Regions from separate parts of the Homo sapiens genome. Here region 2 is linked to region 1. The links are contacts of gene promoters, found by promoter capture Hi-C in blood cells and fetal thymus (Javierre and others, 2016). All regions are on one chromosome and are shown on one strand. The core of a region is centred on a gene start or on the middle of the fragment in contact, and the rest is flanking DNA. Distances in the headings are between cores, read along the strand shown.

Region 1 (3,159 bases), core at 485-2,984:
CAGGGTTCTGAAACTAATCCCTGATAGATGCGACTGTATATGTGTGTATGTATCAGTATATAGAATACTATGGTTAGCACATGGTAAGTATTCCATACATTTTGATTGTTTTTTATTATTATTGCTTGGAACCTCAACTGAAAATGTGTCTCCTTCTTGCACAGAACATGGATACTTCTTGTGCTATGTCACAAGAAGTCACTATCTCCCCAAATAAAAGGCTAGATTGACCAGAATGTTTGCATCTTTCCCATTCAAGCACCTGGCTAGGCCCATTAAGCCTAGGGCCCTACCTCTCAATGCTTTTCAATCCCCTGACACTCAGTACTCTCATTACATATTTGGTGACTTAATTTACAGAATTGCTAAACTCACATTTCTGAACATGGCTTCTAAAACTGACTATCTCTCCCCAGCTTAGCCAGAAGGGCTGCAAGGAAGAACAGAGACCAGAAGGCCTACAGCAGCTAGCAAGGTTAACTTCATGGAGCACCATCGTGCCTTTCAAAGTTCCCATTTCACAAAGTTTTGCCTGGGAACTCAGCAGGAACTTTAGCAACAGGAGAGAATTAGAAATAAATGGCTAAATGAAACCTAGATTTATGTTTCAGTCAATTGAGAGAATCTGACATGTTATGTGCCAGCCCACAGTAGGTATTCAGTAAGTAACTGTTGAATAAATTTGGTGGTAGAAAAAAATATCTCAGTGGCTCTTGGCATTCATTGCCTCTTCTATAGAGACTATACTATACATCCCTCTGCTGCCTTTGAGCAGGACTTTAAAACTCTATGACTCTAGTAAAATCAAGAGTATTTTCACAACCAAGATAAGTTTTTACAATGGTTTTCCTCCACATGGTAAAAAAGAAAGAAGGAAAAAAAATGATGAAGCTCCCTGAATTACTGGATGGGAAACACTGGCTTCTTTAATGCAGGAATGCAGACTGGCTTCGGGGTTCTTGAAGGAGAAATGCATAACTCTTCCTCTCCAGGCTTTTGGCTGGAGACACCCTGTGGGTAAGTTAGGGGAGAGGTAAGAGGGAGCGGGCAATTCCAGTATTTTCACATAGGGAAAGGGTAACGAAGAATCAGGCTGTAAAAGCCAGCTATTGGGAGAGGAAATAAAACTTAAAAATTTGTCATCGTTACTGAAAAAAAAAAAAAAAAAGGTAGGGACAAAAGGAATAGGAAAATGATGGGGGTGGGGGGACTAGTAAAGGAAAACCTGCAAAGGAAGTTGGAAAGAGGAAAGAGTGTCATACGCATTTTGTTTTTATTCCTGCTCCTTCTCTCTCACTCCCTCCAGAAGCTAGAAAAAGTTTGCAAGCGCAACTTTAGGGATGGGAGACGGGGCTCTTCACCAACAGCCCCACGAAAAGAAGTGCCCGCTTTACCCTTCCCCATTCGCGCCGCCGTCCTTTCCCTCTAGCGGGGTGATGGGCAGGAGGCGACACTCTTGGGACGCGGTAGCCCAGGCGGATCCCCCGGAATCCCGCTGGGCTGGAGCAGCACGCAGCTCTCTCTCTGGCAAAGCCTCCTCTGCCTTGGCCATCCACCTCCCGGAAAAGAAAAAGGAAAGATCGAGCCTCTAAACAGTCCTTTTCCCCCACCCCCTCTTCCCGGGGGAGCTCAGGAAGAAAGTACCGTTCTGTGATTCACTGGAGAGAAAAGAGGGAGGAGGCAAAAGAACTCGGAGTGCCAAAGCTAAATAAGTTAGCTGAGAAAACGCACGCAGTTTGCAGCGCCTGCGCCGGGTGCGCCAACTACGCAAAGACCAAGCGGGCTCCGCGCGGACCGGCCGCGGGGCTAGGGACCCGGCTTTGGCCTTCAGGCTCCCTAGCAGCGGGGAAAAGGAATTGCTGCCCGGAGTTTCTGCGGAGGTGGAGGGAGATCAGGAAACGGCTTCTTCCTCACTTCGCCGCCTGGTGAGTGTCGGGGAGATTGGCAAACGCCTAGGAAAGGACTGGGGAAAATAGCCCTGGGAAAGTGGAGAAGGTGATCAGGAGGCCGGTCCACTACGGCAGTTTATCTGTCTGATCAGAGCCAGACGCGACGCGTCCACTTCGCAGTTCTTTCCAGGTGTGGGGACCGCAGGACAGACGGCCGATCCCGCCGCCCTCCGTACCAGCACTCCCAGGAGAGTCAGCCTCGCTCCCCAACGTCGAGGGCGCTCTGGCCACGAAAAGTTCCTGTCCACTGTGATTCTCAATTCCTTGCTTGGTTTTTTTCTCCAGAGAACTTTTGGGTGGAGATATTAACTTTTTTCTTTTTTTTTTCCTTGGTGGAAGCTGCTCTAGGGAGGGGGGAGGAGGAGGAGAAAGTGAAATGTGCTGGAGAAGAGCGAGCCCTCCTTGTTCTTCCGGAGTCCCATCCATTAAGCCATCACTTCTGGAAGATTAAAGTTGTCGGACATGGTGACAGCTGAGAGGAGAGGAGGATTTCTTGCCAGGTGGAGAGTCTTCACCGTCTGTTGGGTGCATGTGTGCGCCCGCAGCGGCGCGGGGCGCGTGGTTCTCCGCGTGGAGTCTCACCTGGGACCTGAGTGAATGGCTCCCAGGGGCTGTGCGGGGCATCCGCCTCCGCCTTCTCCACAGGCCTGTGTCTGTCCTGGAAAGATGCTAGCAATGGGGGCGCTGGCAGGATTCTGGATCCTCTGCCTCCTCACTTATGGTTACCTGTCCTGGGGCCAGGCCTTAGAAGAGGAGGAAGAAGGGGCCTTACTAGCTCAAGCTGGAGAGAAACTAGAGCCCAGCACAACTTCCACCTCCCAGCCCCATCTCATTTTCATCCTAGCGGATGATCAGGGATTTAGAGATGTGGGTTACCACGGATCTGAGATTAAAACACCTACTCTTGACAAGCTCGCTGCCGAAGGAGTTAAACTGGAGAACTACTATGTCCAGCCTATTTGCACACCATCCAGGAGTCAGTTTATTACTGGAAAGTAAGTGTTCCTACTTCTTATATTTATTCCTTGGAGAAATCTTAAGCATTTAATGAAGATCCAGCTCCAAATTTAAGGGAGTAACAGAAAGTATGGGGAACAACTGAATGAATGAAGAATGAATGAATGATGTATGGTATTGGGGTACCGTGTTAAAATGGATACAATGTTAATGATCTTAATTTTCTAGTCACTAGTGTAGTCTAGTTTTCCTT
Region 2 (3,159 bases), core at 314-2,813, 430 kb after region 1:
GACTCAACATTCAAATAATACTTTTTCAGCATATTTCTTTACAAATGCATGTTTGTACAAACAAATGTTTTAAGGATCTCCGGGATGATTCTTAGAGAAAAAAAACTCCATGAATCTGGTCTATATTTTTATCTAGCATCTGTAGTTAGATTACATATTTTATCAAAAACAACAAGGAAAAACAAACCAAAACACCCCACCTAATTGGAATGACTTCTGCTAAAGCAATATATTTTTTAGTGAAAGTCAGAGATCAAAGATTGAAATCCTCTAATCCCTAGATAGATTCTAGGTTGCCCAGTGGTAGCCAGTAGTCACATGTGGCTATTGCAATTTCAATTAATTAAAATTAAATTAAATTAAAAATTTATTTCTCAGTTGGTCTAACCATGTAGTTGGTCTAGCCAACTGCCTAGTAGCCACAAGTGTCTAGTAGCTACCAATTGGCCAGACCAGATATAGAACATTTTCATCATCACAGAAAGTTCTACTGAACAATGAATATCTAATCAGAAAACAGAAACAGCCTGAAAAAAGTCTCAGTGGTCTCTTTAAGGAACTATTATTAGCTAATTAACTCTTTGGAAATTTCATTAAAACCCTTGAACCCCTGAGTTGAAATATATTTATTCAGGCATTTAAGAGAGTTCAAGAGTAATTTTTCAATCTTGTTAATTGGCAAAATCTTTACAAAAGTTTAAAAAAGGCTAAGTTTTTTGTCTAATTTGCAACTTCCTAGGCTATCCAAGGCAACACTTTTGGAGTGGAGTAACATTAACCACTTGCTTAGATGTTACTGGATTGCATGGTGTAAATTTTCCTGTGTACTTTTATATATTCTGTAGCTGTCATTTATTTTTAAAAATCTGATCAAGAGTGATTGGCTCATTATTAGCAATGTAAATGAGATGTTTGGGAGCAGAGATTGACTCTGCTCCCATTCTCCAATGCCATCAGAGCTTCCCAAGGCTTGCTAATCCCATTGTAGCCTGACCCTCAACAGATGTCCAGCTGATATTAAGGTTCCCAGCCCCTCCTTGCCCTCAGAGGCACACTTCTAAGTTTCTAATTTTTCTTCTTGGTTTAATGCACTGTTTATGGCACTTTGTGAATCTATCTGTACATGACTACGCTCTAATTTTTTAATGGAATTTTTATGGCCAAAGTCAAATAGAAAATTCTGTGTAATTTATACTATGATGAGTGAATCATCACTTGCTCAGTTTACCCCAAATCCCCACATTAGGGTCCTGAAAGGGGCCATGGGGAACCTCTGGAAGTAGCTATTTGGCCACTTGCCAAGAAACAGTAATACTTTTAATCAAGGTACTAAACTAGGGAATTTCATTAATGTTACCCTTCAAAGTTATGTTAAGCAGGCTGTTACTTGGTTTGAAAAATACTGGTTGAAATTAAAATAGAGACTATTTTTACTGCTAAAGAGCTCTAAGATATTTTTTATGAAAGCTCTCCGATAAAATCAAAGAGAAGGAACATTCCCTTCTAAATACATAAAGAGGCTATTTCTCAGTCAGATGTGGTGGCCCACTCCTATAATCCCAGAACTTTGGGAGGCCAAGGTGGGAGGATTGCTTGAGCCCAGGAGTTCGAGACCAGCCTGGGCAACATGGTGAAACCCTGTCTCTGCTGAAAATACAAAACTTAGCCAGGTGTGGCAGCATGCACCTGTAGTCCCAGATAATCAGGAGGCTGAGGCAGGAGAATCACTTGAACCTGGGAGGTGGAGGCTGCAGAGATCATGCCACTGCACTCCAGCCTGGGCGACAGAGTGAGACCCTGTCTCAAAAGAGGCTATTTGATTGTCAAAAAATTGTAAAAATTTTTTACTAGTTCTCAAAAATTTAAGAATTGAATCCATTCTCACTAGTAAAAAAAATGGTGAAGTCCATTTAGTATGTGTTATTGTTTACTTCTTTATCTTCTGTTATTCCCAAGATTCAATAATTTATGCTTGTTGTTTGAGAACAGGAAGAGAAATATTCTTAAAGAGTAGTGCAAAGTGAACATTATTGTAAAAGAAAAAAGATTCCTATGGTTTAAAAATAATGACCAATACTCAAATAAACAATGTAGTCAACAGCAATGAATGTGAGACGCTTTTAGTGGTATTGTTAATAAAAGAGCTAGAAAATCATAGTCATGATCAATTTTTAAAATATTTACATTGTAATAAATCAGATGGTGATTACTTTTTTAAATTCAAGATTTTTCTTTAGAATAATATTATTTTATACATTAAGTGGTTGAAAATGTCCTTATTAAAATGTTTGCTTCATCTTTCAATGAATAAATGTAGTTCAGGATGTACTTGCATTTGAATTGCACAGTGAACTTATACAAAATTCATCAGTGTGATGTGTTCTGCATTATTATATGTCAGATGACAGTTCACAGGACCTTATAGGTGCCAAACAAGGATTTCTCCTCTCTAATTAGCAGTCCCATTTGATATCAGTGAACCCTTAATAAGAATAGCATAAAATGTGCATTTTGATATAGTATGAAGCAAAAGTTTTTCTTCACTGAAGTGTATGGAAGTGGGTTTAATAATTACCAATGCTCCAGGGGATTGTAAATTTGTATTTATTTATTCTTTGAAAGCTCCCTAGCTCTTCCCCAAAGTATTCTTACACTAAAGAGGGGTTTATTTTATTCATGAGTTTACTTTAAATTCTCCCTTTATTGTTGGAGACTTGCATTTGTTTTCCTGTTATATACTTTACAAAAAGCAACGCTTCTAAGGCGAAATGGTAAATGTGTCCCTCCATTTTTTTTGACCCTTGTTTCACCTGCCACTTCATCTGTGTTTACCCTCTTGTTTCAACACCTGTTTAATTGTGACCTCAGATTTTAAACAGTTTAGATGTGTATAAGAAATACCTGGAAATTTTATATCTCTGAAGAATTTTCCCAGAACATTATGGGAATTCTTTATAAATTTTTCTTTCTAAATATGGAGATTTTACCTTCTTATACATATTATTTAATTTGTACACTTACAATGAAAACAACACAACTCAAATTGTTTTGTCTGAACATGTCACAAAGTCTATGTTGGATGTCATTTTTGTTAGAACCAAAATTAGCTTTATTCAGCTTTATTTGATTCCAACGTAAAGCTAAAAAAAGTGAAGAAAT

What was found. The method cuts DNA at HindIII sites, captures the fragments that hold promoters and counts their contacts. A CHiCAGO score of 5 or more calls a contact.
Region 2: a fragment that was not itself captured here is called in contact with the fragment with the promoter of ARSJ in region 1 in 1 of 17 cell types (naive CD4 T cells); the score reaches 5.8 in naive CD4 T cells.

What each region holds. Positions count from the first base shown.
Region 1 is chr4:113,978,222-113,981,380 of GRCh38, reverse strand. It overlaps ARSJ (arylsulfatase family member J), which reads left to right and starts at 1,734. Exons shown (of 2, transcript NM_024590.4): 1 at 1,734-2,944. The coding sequence starts at 2,547. LOC107986305 (a long non-coding RNA gene) reads right to left here and starts at 1,568. Exons shown (of 2, transcript XR_001741794.2): 1 at 1,395-1,568; 2 at 1-1,011. LOC124900762 (a long non-coding RNA gene) reads left to right here. Exons shown (of 3, transcript XR_007058237.1): 3 at 417-486. The HindIII fragment of the contact is 10,512 bases long and covers 1-3,159 here.
Region 2 is chr4:113,548,843-113,552,001 of GRCh38, reverse strand. The region is part of intron 5 of CAMK2D (calcium/calmodulin dependent protein kinase II delta); the gene reads left to right. Among named protein-coding and RNA genes, the nearest start is that of CAMK2D, 210 kb to the left of the region's middle. The HindIII fragment of the contact is 5,372 bases long and covers 1-3,159 here.